Linked DNA regions of Homo sapiens: region 2 is linked to region 1. Evidence: promoter capture Hi-C in 16 types of primary human blood cells and fetal thymus (Javierre and others, 2016). All regions are on one chromosome and are shown on one strand. The core of a region is centred on a gene start or on the middle of the fragment in contact, and the rest is flanking DNA. Distances in the headings are between cores, read along the strand shown. Region 1 holds the start of AGMO (alkylglycerol monooxygenase). Region 2 overlaps LRRC72 (leucine rich repeat containing 72).

Evidence for each region. Contacts are between HindIII fragments. The CHiCAGO score rates a contact against its expected background, and 5 or more counts as called.
Region 2: a fragment that was not itself captured here is called in contact with the fragment with the promoter of AGMO in region 1 in 1 of 17 cell types (endothelial precursors); the score reaches 5.4 in endothelial precursors.

Annotation. Positions count from the first base shown.
Region 1 is chr7:15,559,543-15,566,245 of GRCh38, forward strand. AGMO (alkylglycerol monooxygenase) reads right to left here and starts at 2,473. Exons shown (of 13, transcript NM_001004320.2): 1 at 2,178-2,473; 2 at 599-729. The coding sequence starts at 2,303. LOC124901591 (a long non-coding RNA gene) reads left to right here. Exons shown (of 3, transcript XR_007060217.1): 3 at 554-658. The HindIII fragment of the contact is 1,289 bases long and covers 1,488-2,776 here.
Region 2 is chr7:16,558,391-16,565,845 of GRCh38, forward strand. It overlaps LRRC72 (leucine rich repeat containing 72), which reads left to right. Exons shown (of 9, transcript NM_001195280.2): 5 at 499-609. Among named protein-coding and RNA genes, the nearest start is that of LRRC72, 35 kb to the left of the region's middle. The HindIII fragment of the contact is 1,994 bases long and covers 2,956-4,949 here.

The DNA of each region.
Region 1 (6,703 bases), core at 1,223-3,722:
ATGACAGGATAAACATGACAAATAGACAGGAGAGTGGACGATCCAAAAGCAAAGCCAGAGAAACAATGTTCTCTATAGTTCAAGACAGGGATTTTTACCTTACACTTGAGGCAATAGAGAGCCAGTGAAGGGTTTCCACTGGATTCATATTATGGAAATGCTTGGCTGCAAACGGGGTTGTACTAGAGCCAGACACCAATTAGCAAACTATTGTAGTTATTCAGAGATTTGTGTGACCTGCTCTAGGGAATGGCTACACCCGAGACAGCTATTCTTTCTGAAGCTGGAAGAGACAAAACACAATTTTAATAGAGAACCAGACCATAACTCAGAGTTGGAACCTCAATAAGGCAAATGAAGCACTCATTTCAAAGGGATATCAACAGAGTCAAGATAAATAATGTTTGCGGTGATTTTTTAAATAAGTGCAAAAAATCAATGAAGAACAAAATATCAAAATTTTAAATAATGACATGAACTGAATTTTTTGGGAAAATTTGTGTAAATAAACTAATTCTCCCATGCATTGGGTTCCTTTGCCCCTCATACTTAGGCAATTTCAGTTTTTATGCTCAGCGTTGTTGACCATCTAACTCACCTTGGAAGTCGAGACAGAACACCAGCTGAGATTGACGTTAAAGCATCATCCAGGCGACCTGGTGGCTTTCCTTTGAGAATCCAGCTGACAACAAGTTCAAGCAGCATCAAAGAAATGAAAAATGGAGTTGCCTGGAAAGGAAGTTGCAGAAAAGAGATGCTATTATGTTCCATATGAAATTATTTTACATTTCCTGATTAGTCATTTCAGAATTGAAAGGCCCAGATTTGGGAAGCCCTGCAGGAGATGGTAGACACTCATTTTAGAGGATTACTTCCTACACAGTGGTAAAGAAGTCTAATTATTTTAGACATACACTAAACATGTGCTCAAATTCTATCATCCAATTTGAATATGAAATGTAATCATAGATATAACCACGATAATTATAATATTATAAGATTAAGAGGAACATCTTCCAAATTAGTTTAAAAAATACATTTAGAATAAGGTAGATAATTAGAGGTCTATTGTCTCTACATGTATAATTTAGACCCACTTCAAGAGGCTTTCCTTAAAGATGCACATAATTCTAATTTTTCATATTAGACTTACCAGAACTATTTCTAATGATGAAATTCAAAGAGTAGAGACAATTTTCTGCTTAGAATTTTAGAGAATATGGTAATTTTACATGTTTGCTTAAAACATGATTCAGATTTTATTCATTTGGTTTTGATTTTTGTTTCACATAATAAGAGATGTTTTGAAAGCTCCACTATTGGTGATGGAGCATTGAATTTGGTTTGATATTGCAGTATAAACAATAATAATTTATGAAGATATCAGTGCCACTTTTTTTAACTTAAAAACTCAGAAAGAAAGTGTAATATCTAATCTTGAAAAAGATACGGATTTTACTCATTTGGAAGCTAATCATGAGTTTTGAAGCTTTCTAAACTGAACTCTCAATAACATATTCTATGATGTCATTTTTTTTCTATTTCTGCCATGAACTAGTGAGTGTTGTAGGAATAACTTTGATAGGGTGGGGAACTTCAGTATTCAAGTTCTAATTCTGGATATTTCCACTTCCAATCATAGCCAGGAACCAGAAGTGAAATGTGCCTCTGAGCACTTCAGAGTTTCAAAGAAAACTTGGGTCAAATTCAAACTTAGGAAGTCAGAGCTGGACCTGGTCAAGCTGCATATCCTTCATTCTGCTGAACTACTCTACCAAATGAAAGAGGAAATAGTTTCCCTGGAAGGGGTGGACAAGTGAAAGATTTAAAAATGAAATTGTTACAAAGTTTACTGATGTGGTGTAACTATTTGTCATTGAGCTTCCAATAGCTACATTTACAATGCCATGGAGTCCAGGAAAACTTTAAACTTTTGTTTTTGTCATATTCTGGAGTGACATATAAAAGAGGGAATTTACAGGTGAAGATGGCTATGGATTGTAAGAAAATTCAAGTGGAAATTCTACTTTTGCTTCACGCCTTTAAGAAACTGAATTATTATTATTAGAATGTAATCATTTGAATAATGAAAGTGAACAAAACCCTAAGGAGATTGACCTTACCATTTATTAAGAAAGCAGCAAGAATAAGAGTAGCCTCTTCCAATAAAGTCTCACCTTTTTTACATAATCAGGCACCTCTTCTAATGTTTGGAATGAAGTTTCACTGGGTTTCATCGTGTAAAACAACATGCGAAATCCCTGGGAAACTGAAACATCCTGCTGGGCTTCTGGGTTCTTCATTTCTGCCCTTGTCTGATTCCCAGCTGGAGAATATTTAGGATTCAATGCTTGAAGCCTGAGGCTGAACAAAGAGGACGAGATGTGCAGCTCAGAACAAGCTCTTTGTCAGAGAACAGCTAAAACCAAAGCTCCACTGAGAGCACACTCAACAGCCGATTCTGTGTAGAGAGACAGGAAAATACAAGGATCAAGAACAAGTACAGAGTTCAGTGGGCGCTGGGCCAGAAACAGGGCATGTGGGGGAGGGAAAAGAGGACTCATACCCAAATCAAAGTCATACAGTGCAGTTTGACTGTAGGTGGAGCAAGTTACTACTTAAAAAAGAAGAGAAAAAACATCATAATAGTGTCTCGGAAAGAAAAAAGTGATAACGCAGGTATATGTTCACTCTGAAAAACTGGATAGAAATTCAAGCATCAAGTCACATAGAAAAACCTTTTTTTCTCCTCATTTAGAAATTTACAATGTGTTCAAGCTTGTAGTTTCTTTATTTCCTACAGAGACTGTGTATAGGCGAGCTACTTAATAATAGCTTGAAAGTCAGTAAGCACTGAATATCTGGCTCCTTATTGCCTATCTATATTTCTGTATCTGAATCATGTTATTACCACTTCTGAATGTTTGCAACCAGTTTAGGGGCATTTGGCTTATTACATAATCTACATTATTTAATGGAAAATTGGCTAGTCACATCTTCTCTATTCTTCTTAGTACTTATGGGAACTTTCTGATTAAAGAAGGTGCCAAGATGTTGCTGTGAGACCTGTTTCTGTTTTACAGAAAGAGCTTAAGTGATTGTACCTTTTAAGTAGATTAGAAGGCACTTAATTTATTACATTACCAGTGAATATGTGGAGCTTGCCAGAATAGCCTCAGCTCTTTACCCAAAACAGCTGTAATCATCCTTTAGCTGCCATTTCATCATTTAAAGATGTTTACATAGATCTAATTAAAGTATCAATGCACGATTGTTTTAGAAAAATATAGAAACTATAGATAAGCAATAATAAGCTGCCCAAAACGCTATTAACATTTTGGTACATGTATGGTCAGTTTTGCTATAATGTGATATATCCATTCCTAAAAATCACTATACTGTACAAAATTGTGCAATAAAAACCACGGGACTTGTGAGAAAAAATGTGATTAGGGTAAAATACTCAAAAACTTCATAATGACCCACAAGGAACAAGAAAAAAAGGATGAGAGCCTAATAAAAATGGTAGCACACTTTCACACGTTACATGGTTAAGATATACATAAATACTAAAATAAATATGATGCTTTACCTTGAAAAAGACCTGAAACTTGTTTTGGAAATTAGGCATTGGAAGATTTGCAAACTGCAAGTTACTTTAGCTTGTTGAAATGTGGGTTATCTGAAATCAGACAGAAAGTTGCAATATGACATATGGGTGTCAAGGCTCACAACACACAGGTGAAGTGAGGGTGTTACTATAAGTGGTGGGTGTATTTTGTGCATCCTAAGCCTTTCTGTTTTTCAGTTCAGTTTTTTAAAGTTCAACTACTCTTTTTCACTGAAAATAAAATCACACATGAGCATAGGCAGTATGCTCAAATTATTTTCTGGTATATTAATCACATTGGAACAAATTTAATCTCAAAGCACATGTTATAGCAGAATTGACTGTCCTTTCAGACCATTCCCATTACCAATAAGTACATATGGACATTAATTTTTAATAAAGGTGTCTGGGCGTGGTGGCTCACACCTGTAATCCCAGCCAGTACTTTGGGAGGCCGAGACGGGCTGATCACCTGAGGTCAGGTGTTTGAGATCAGCCTGGCCAACATGGCAAAACCCCGTGTCTACTAAAAATACAAAAATTAGCTGGGTGTGGTGATGGGCACCTGTAGTCCCAGCTATTCGGGAGGCTGAGGCAGGAGAATTGCTTGAACCCAAGAGGTGGAGGTTGCAGAGAGTGGAGATTTTGCCATTGCACTCCAGGCTGGGGGACAGAGCAAGACTCTGTCACAAAAACAAAAAAAAATTTAATAAAAATGATCATAGTAGGCATACTGTTTTATTACCTGCTTTCAAAACAATTTTGGAAATTAACAATGTGATACAAGAGAAAAAAATACAAACAATATAGCTGTATATAAAGTCAAAAGTGGCAGCATCCTTTCTTCTCAATATATGCACACCTTGCACTTCACTTCATAGGGATAACATATCCTCTTGGTGGGGTTTTTTTTTTTTTTTTTTTTTGCCATATCTGTTTTTTCCTAAAAGGGATAGTTATTATCATTATTACTATACAAATACGTTTCTATATACACATAATGGTTCGATTTTGCAATGGACCTTATCAAACATAAGATACAGCAAGTTCCTTCTTGGAGTCAATAACTTACCAGGAACATTTCTTTTTTAGTATATGATTATACAGGTACAGCCTTTTCTTCGTTGTTTTTACTGGCTGCAAAAGTGTGTGTGTGCATTTCAATGAGCAAAACAAAATTATTTCTAACTTTTTAAAGCAGAAGCAATTTTATACAAGAAAAAAGTTGTTACATAGATGATGGGAGAAGTAAAAAACCAAGCAGGAACAAAGAGGTAATCTAGAGATTAGTACCAATAGGAAGCCACTACCATTGTTAAATTGTAGGGACAAATGGAGAAGGTTGTATTAGTAGGGCCCAGGGGCTATGGTCATCTAGGAAAAGTTAGAACCACCATTGGCTTGTCTAGCAAGAGTATTTCCCATGGAGCAAAGCCAATCAAAGCCAGAAATAATACCCATGGCAGAGAGGGAAGAAAGGGAAGTACTATGGCTTCTCCCTTCTTCCTGCCCACCAGTCTCCCAACAGTACTTCCCATTAGGCTATGACATGGTTGGATTTGCGTCCTGGCCCAAATCTCATGTCAAATTGAAATCCCCAGTGTTGGAGGAGGGGCCTCGTGGGAGATGATTGGATCATGGGGGTAGATTGCCCTCTTGCTGTTCTCCTGATAGTGAGTGAGTTCTCAAGAGATTGGTTGTTTAAAAGTGTGTAGCACCTCCCTCTTCTGTCTCGTCCTCCTGCTCTGGTCATGTAAGGCACACCTGTTTCCCCTTCTGCAGTGATTGAAAGTTACTTGAGGCCTCCCTAGCAATTATTCCTGTACAGCCTGCAGAACTATGAGGCAACTAAAACTCTTTTCTTTACAGATTACTCAATCTCAGATTGTTCTTTACAGCAGTGTGAGAATAGACTAATACAAGCTAAATGAGTCAAAAGCCAGTTGACAGAAAAAGCTAGAAAAAGAAGCCTGCTGAAGGTAACCTCTTACTACACACAGTGCTGAAGGAGAAAGGGAGGGAAGAATCAATCTATGGAAAAAGTCAACCAAGAACCAGCACACCATCATAACTTATTTAATTACTCCTCTATTGTTGTGTGTGTAAACGCAGTCTTCCATTTTTAACTAATAAATTTAATGCAACAATAAACATCATGGTATAAATATTTATACATTTTGCACATTTTTTGTTACATAGATTCCTAGCAGCGGAATTATGCTATGAAGATGATGTAAAATTTACCCTTTGATAATTACTGCCGAATTCCCCTTTCAGATTGCCTTCCCCTCCACACTCTTGCTAACACTGGCTATTATTAATCTTTCATAATTTTTAGCCAATTAGTTAATGAAAAAATGGTATCTTGTTTTAATTTGCATCTCACTAATGACACTGAACATCTTTCAGTACATTTATTAATGTTTTTTTGCTTCTTAATCTGAAATTTATTTTTTAATATGAGCTGCACATTATTTTATTTCATTGTCATTATTGGTTTATAGGCCATTTGTATTATAAATATATAATTCTATGTACAGTATATATATTCTGATATATGTGACAAGTATTTTCTCATTTCATATTCACTAGTTATCTATATGTTGTCATACTGCAATTGTAACTTTGTGTGTGCTGTTATCCTTTGTTACCTCTGCTTTTGGATCTTGCTTATGAACATTTCCCTTGCCAGAATTCCGTAAGAATAATCTTCTGATTTTTTTTTTTTGGAGCATTTAAAAGATTTCTGTTGTTTCAATTATCTGGAATTTAGTTTTCCATATGGTATGTAGTAATTATTTGACTTTTTACCTTGCCTTTATGGATCACAGTTCTTGCCACACCATTAGTCAGTCAATACTTTCCCCACTATTCTATGTACCTGTACTATTTCCAGGCTCTTCATTCAGCTCTATGGATGTTTTTATCTACTCTTATGCTAGTACCATGTTGTCTTCATTATTGTACTGTCATAATAAATTCTGGTAACTTGTAGAACAATTTATCATGCTTGAATTTTATTACTCAAAAATATGAAGCTGTTTTTACACATTTGCTTGTGTAAATGTTTAGACTAAACTTCAAAGCATCCTG
Region 2 (7,455 bases), core at 2,703-5,202, 1.0 Mb after region 1:
CTGAGGTCGGGAGTTCGAGACCAGCCTGGCCAACATGGTGAAACCCCCGTCTCTACTAAAAATACAAAAATGAGCTGGGCATGGTGGTGGACGCCTGTAATCTCAGCTACGTGGGAGGCTGAGGCAGGAGAATCCCTTGAACCCAGGAGGCGGAGGTTACAGTGACCCGAGATTGTGCCATTGCACTCCAGCCTGGGCAACAAGAGTGAAACTCCATCTCAAAAAATAAAAATAAAAAAAAGGAAAACAATGACAGTGGAAAGAAATTTACTCTTTATTCCCACATCACAATTAATTATATGAATTATGCCTTATTGTATTCTTAATAATAATTTATAATATATTATTAATAGTTATTCCTTCTTTAACCAGCTATCATATGTTTTCCTTTTTAGTTAGCATGTTAATTAGCATTAAAAATGTTTATTTTTATTTGCAATAAAAAAATAAACTGAAAAAAATGTTTAAAATCTTGTAAAAATATTCTGTTTTTTTTAGGTCTGCATTATTTGCCTTCATTGCATATACTCCTGCTACACCACAATGAGCTAACCAACATTGATGCAACAGTGAAGGAATTAAAGGGAATGCTAAATCTGAAGATCCTAAGTAACAATTTGCAATTTTATATGGCCATAAGTTAAAATAGTATTAACATAAGACATTTTTCCATTTATCAAGTTTAAAATTAGAGAGGCAATGTTTATAATTAAGATATTTAGGCTGGGCACTGTGACTCACGCCTGTAATCTCAGTGCTTAGGCAGGCTGAGGTGGGCGGATCACTTGAGCCCAGGAGTTCAACACCAGCCTGAGCAACATGGCAAAACCCTGCCTCTACCAAAAATACAAAAATTAGCCAGGCCTGGTGGCGTATGCCTGTAATCCCAGCTACTTGAGAGGCTGAGGCGGGAGGATCACTTGAACCCAGGAGGCAGAGGTTGCAGTGAGCCAAGATCGCGCCACTGGACTCTATCCTGGGTAACAGAGCAAGACCCTGTCTCAGAAAAAAAAAAAATTAGATATTCCTGAAAATAAGGCTAGATCTTATTGTCTTTTAAGATACGCTTTTGAAAAAACAACAGATAGAAAAATTTTTGTTTGTGAAATGCTATCTATCACATGGCTAATGAAAATGACAAAAGTAGCAAGAGGATTTACATGTTTAAATTTGTTTTTGGTTTTATCTCAAAAGTAAGTTTTAACACATATGATTCCATTTATGTAAGTGTCCAAGTAGGCACATCTATAGGGACAGCAACACCGAGAGGTAACTGTTTTTAAATAGATGAGTGTTGCCAACGGCCAAGGAACTGGGAGTTGTGACAGCTAGAGAGTAAAGGGTGTGGGGTTATTTTGGGGGTGATAAAACATACTAAAATTGACTGTGGTGATAAGTTGCATAACTTTGTGAATAAACCACAAACACACAAATCATATGTTTAAGCTGGGTGAACAGTGTGATACATAAAGTATATTAATAAAGCTGATACCAAAAAAAAAAAACTAAAAGACTTTTTAAGCTTTCAACTGGAGGCCCAGCAAACTTTATTCATATATATTGAATCACACCCAGTAAGGAACTAACCTATTGGAAAGAAGTGTGAGATGAGTCAAAAATAAATAAATAATACACCACTCCTACTCTCAATAAACTTATGGTCTTGAAGGGTAAATAAACATGTATACAACCACAATACAAGATAAAGGATTCTGGGTGTACTGAGGTAAAAGACCTACAGATCAACGAGTAGGTTTTCAGACTTTAGAGTTTAGAGACCTCTTTATAATAATGTAACGCAATAGATATATTTTTTAATTCCTTTTCTATTCATTTCTCAGAATTGCCTGAGACAGTGTTTTGAACAGTTGTAAGCTAGTATTGATGGTGAAAGTTCTAATCAGATAAATGTACAGAGAGTTACTAAGGTTTCCATATATTGTTAGTGTTATCAGTTATATCTACTGTACTGAGGGAAAATGATTCATTTGTTATAGTTAGATTCTTTAAACCCAAGTATTAAAATCACAAAATTACACCAAGTTCATGGCAATTTTATGCTTATTTTGGAGACGTGAGAAGGCTGCCTGCTGTCAGGAGTTTTTTTCACAGCTTTTGGATCTTCTGTGAAAGAATTGGCCTGCATATTTGAGTCACCTGGCCCCTGTCTGCTGGAAAAATGCTGCTATAATTAAAAGACTAGTTATGCTAGACCTAGAACACTTACCTTTGTTTTTCTATAAAATGGGCTGATAGCTACCTCTCAGGGTTGCTTCAAACATTAAGATAACTCTGTTTTTTTTTTTTAAGAAAACGTTTCTCACCATTAATGTTATTTTGAAGCAACAACAAAAATTGAAATTCTAAAAAAAGAAAAAAATTGTTTTATTGTGGATTATGTAAATCAGATAATGAAATAAATTGCATCCAGTCTCGAAATTCTGCTAATAGACTCAATAAAACGATATTTTAAATAATAATCATATAGTAATATGTTTGAATGTCTTTCCTGTTAAAAAAATGATTTATTATAGTCGCATTTAAATCTTTACAGCATCCTATGATGTGATTAGAATTACTCCCTTTAATCATGGAAATGAAAAGCTCAGAGATTTAACCAAACTCCTAAGGAGTGTTGAAACATAAACTCATGCCTTGTTTTACTTATCATTTATTTATTCATTCATTCAATAAATATTTATAATCTATTCATTCATTCATTTAATAAATGTTTATCACACATTCACTACATGACACTATTCTAGATAATAGGACTCAAATTTGAACAAGAAAGACCCAGTCTATACCTATATAGGGCTTACAAATTAGTAACACTCAGCCTAAATATTTCTTAGAGTCGAAGGGGTCTAATGCAAAATGATTTAATTTGCTACTTTAAAAACTCTATAATTTAAGGAAACTTGTTATAAAACAACATTTGGAGAGTGGTAAACAAGCTTACTCCCACAGTAATAAACAGAGTTATGCCCATAGTAATAAATAAGGTTATACCCTAAACAAAGGTGCCCAGCCCAGGACTGAATGGATCCTGAAATCCAGCCCATGCCCTGCTTGTCAAGGGTGTATGTGAGTGTAGAATTGTGCCAGGCATGAGGAGTGGGAATTTTCTAGTTTTTAAATACCAGCCTGGTAGTACAATGTCCATATCATTACCAGTCACAATAGTTTACGACCACTACTTAAAATCACAGTGACGTATTTCAAGTTACATAACTATAACTTTCCAGTTGAGAATCTTGTTGTGGGGTCATTTGTTTGAAATGGAGAAAATGCTATGTCCAATTACAAAAAACAAAAAGCATTTTCTAAAAATTCACATTTTGAACTCATGTTCCATTTTGGTTAAAGATATTGTATGAAAAATAGTTTGTATTTATTAGACAACTAACGTTATTTGTGCAGTCATGTCCTCAGATTAAGTTTCTATGAGCCTCATTTGCAATCACAGATTAGCTTTAGCTGATAAACTAAAATGAGAACTCTATGTATTTTCAAATGTAGTCATTTTTGTCTTTTTAAGTTGTAAATCCATATAAAATTATAAAGTGTTATTATTCCACTTAAATTACAAGTTCTTCAGAGGGTGAGAAAATAGCCTGAAGGGCAAAACGCTAATCCATTCTCAGCATCGCACCTTCCATTGGCATTTATGAGGAGAATTGCCAAGGACTGCCTAGGAGACGCATGGCTGAGAGCTTCAGGGAGGCCTAAACCAGCTGCAGAGTGTGAGGTCCTGGGAACTGGAATTCCTGTCTTCAGGCAGAGTCAGGGGGCCCCACCTCTTCTCTCTAGGCAGTCTACCTTTCCACACCCTCTCTTTCTAGCTCAGTTTTCCTCTTCCCTTCCCTCCTCCAAACTCTTTCTAAATCAGAATCCACATGTGTCAAAGACCCACTTTGTGGCTGATGGCTTTTATTAACTCCTGCCCCCTTTCCAGTACTAAGGGAAAAAAACCACCGCCACCAAAAGCCGCAGCAACAAAATGCTTAATCCACTCTCCTGTTCTAAACCTTCAGTTTTCTCGTTTCTTTCTAATTTTCTGTTTTATTAAACTCCACTGTTGGAAAGTATGCTTAAGACTCCTGCATGCCATAATTGTTAAGACCTGCTTCCTACCGGAGCTTCCAGGAATCAGCCTTGGGAACAGGGAGTTCCTCCTTTCGAGAGAGGGTCTCCATGTTTCCACAGGTATTGCCTTTAAACACTTCCTGCCGTTGTCTTCAGCAGTGGCCCCAATCCACTGCCCATGGCAAAAAGCCAGGGGAGCAGAGGGATTCTGGGATACGGGGAGGGACTAGGATCTCCAGGGTCCCTTCCTTTGAGCCTCTTTTCCTATAATGCCCTTCCAGGTGGGACCACCCCTCCCAAAAGACAAAACAATTCACCAAAGGAAAAGAACCAACAGTGTTTTTCACCACTGTTTGTCCTGAAAAAGAGGATATTCTGATCCCTCCTCTCTCGATCCTCTGCTTTATCGTAGTTTGCCTTTTACAATCAGGGGTGATTTCCATATTCAGTAAAAAGCACATGGTGTGTGGTGGCCACCAGATTTTTAGTTAAAACAAGATGGTGATTAACAATGGAGATGCTGACCTTACTAAGTAACCTTGACCCGGAGCCTCACAATCCTCCTATCTGATTATTGACAGCTGAACTTCCTTCCACAGGCCGTTCTCTATAGGCTTTTAACTTCTCCATGTCATTTTCTTTTTCCCATATATTAAAATTGGGATGTTGGTCTCTTATTAATTACATCAACTTTCTTCGAAGGCAGCCTTAAAAACATTGGGGTTCATTTAAATAATGATTTTAAATTCTGCTTTAAAAGTTTACAAAAAAATAACTGGAGCCAATTATTTAGATGGCTTTTTTTTTTCCTCTTCTGTCTCGATAATAAGTAGCTTCATACACGTGACTCCTGTAAGCCAAGCTTGTGCGGTAAGGTAGTAGAGACATTTTGATATATCATTGGGTAAATGTAAATTGCTTAGACTCAGAATCCCAAATTAAGATAAGCAAGACAGTGCTGGCGCCACTGAGGTATACTCTGTAAGTAGCCTAGAGGGAAGGTGGATTAAATAGTATTAACCTATTGAAAGTGAAAGTGTAAGCAATTTCTCTTCATGGTTTCTAAAAGAATGTGCCCATACATCATAGAAGGCTTTCAGAACATTCAGAAACAGGAAACTGATTTCACATCTTAGACATTTAATTTATGTTGATTTTAGCAGCATCAATCCAAAACTCATAAATCCAAAATGTTAAATGTTTAATAGTATAGAAGGAAAAAATAGAGTTAAAAATATGATTGCTTCTTCTAAAATTTAAGAGATAGGAAACAGTGAATAATAATGATGAAATGCCTGTCAAGTTATTTAACTCAATTTTTAAAGTTAATTTAAGCAGAGGATGGGCTAACAGTTCAGTTTTCTGATTTCGTGTCATTCAGTTTTTACTTTAGGATGAGATGAATGGTCAACCACAAGTCCATAGAGTTTTTAGTATCAATATGTTGCTAATAAGTAATGTAACAGTAGTAAATCCAAGTTTGGTGTTTTATTCAGCTGAAGCTAGTTTTTAAATTTCCATATAGAAGTTACTTAACCAAGGATTAGCAGAAAAACCCAAGAAATGAAATGAAATGGATAGTAATGTCCTCAGAGGGGAAAGAGAAGACGAAGGGTACACCTAGAGAAAACGTCATTGAAAGATGTTGGTATATTTTCCATTAACGTCATATGTAAAGGCAGACTCTACTTCCAGATGCTATAATGTATAACAGGGTTATGAGGTGTCAGATGTGATTCCCCAAGACAGTAACCACAAAGCAGACTTCTGTACTAAAGCATCTGTGACTTTTTCTTCCTTCTGAGTTCTCATTAGAAACAATTGTGTTTTGCTTTTATATCCTTGAAGAGGGTCCTTTTCTTTACTTTCTCTGGCTCGAACTACAATTCATGATCCCAATGGCTCTTTTATTAGTGGTTTAATATACATCTGTTCTATTCCCTGTCCTGCAGTTATAATTATTTGTTACCACTTTAAAATCCTTCTCTTTCAAGAATAAAATTCAGACCATTTTCTGTCATTTAAGAAATCTTGAAAAAAAAAAAGTTTTATTTTTCTTCTCATTTTCTCCATTACTTACATATTTCCTTTCTTTTAAATTTCTTTGTGGCTCCTGGCTCTACATTTTCCTGTATGCCTTTCCTCACTCCTGTAACTTTTGTTTATTATGTACCAGGTGTCTTCCATTGCCTGCTTTATGTCCCTCTAAAGCTCGCGTTTTCCACAGGGAATAGCTATATATAACGCTTTTATTAGCCAGAAAAAGTTGTGTTTATACAACAAATATCAGAATGCTTTATTACTACAGAGAAAACATCCAGATGATTGATTTTTTTTTTTTAGTTTTTATCTAGCTTGTTATCTTTTAAGCATGCACCTACCCCAATCTTCTTTATGTTACAAACTGCTCTTTAGAAATATTAATCAGTTTTTTCCGAGTTTCTAATGCTTACTATTTTCATGCCTTTATCAAACCTGTATTTTATGAATAGTCTACAACAGTACTCTTAAATTTCACATGTACATTAAGTGAGCTTCATTTTATTGAGTGAAGGAGTTGTGCGGTAGCTGGAGCTCTTTCTACTACTGCCATCTAGTGGTTCTCCTTATTAGGTGTATTTTCAGAAGAATTTCCTAGAAATTGCATGTAGGTAGGTGGAATCCGAATAACTAAAGATTACTGGCCAGGTGCGGTGGCTGATGCCTGTATTTTGGGAGGCCAAGGTGGGCGGATCACGAGGTCAGCAGTTCGAGACCAGCCTTGCCAACATGGCGAAACTCCGTCTCTACTAAAAATACAAAAATTAGCCAAGCGTGGTGGCAGGCGCCTGTAATCCCAGCTACTCAGGAGGCTGAATCAGGACAATTGCTTGAACCCGGGAGGCAGAGGTTGCAGTGAGCAAGATCATGCCATTGCGCTCCAGCCTGGCAACAAGAACAAGACTCTGTCAAAAAAAAAAAAAAATGCCCAACTGAAAATCATTAAAGTTTTATTTCACATTGTATTGAAAAAATATGTTTATTATCATCTAGGATGAATAGGGAAAATATCTTTTTTTAAAAATAAAGCCCTCACAACTTCTAGTTGAGGATGTTTAAAAACATAACTATGTGCTGATTCCCAAGGGATATGATGTCAAAAGTGCCAGGGCTGCTTCTGCATCCACATGCCCCCTTCTTCCAACCACTGCATTAGGAAGTGCGGTTTATCACACATCCTAGCACCTGCACACCAGGATCTCAGAACTGCACGTGCCTGGCCAGAGGTAGACAAGATGCAAGAGCCACTTCTGCTCAGCTCTGGTCCTGCTGAGATCTGAAGCTACTATTGACACATTCTGAACTATGAGCAATGGTGTGGAGGAA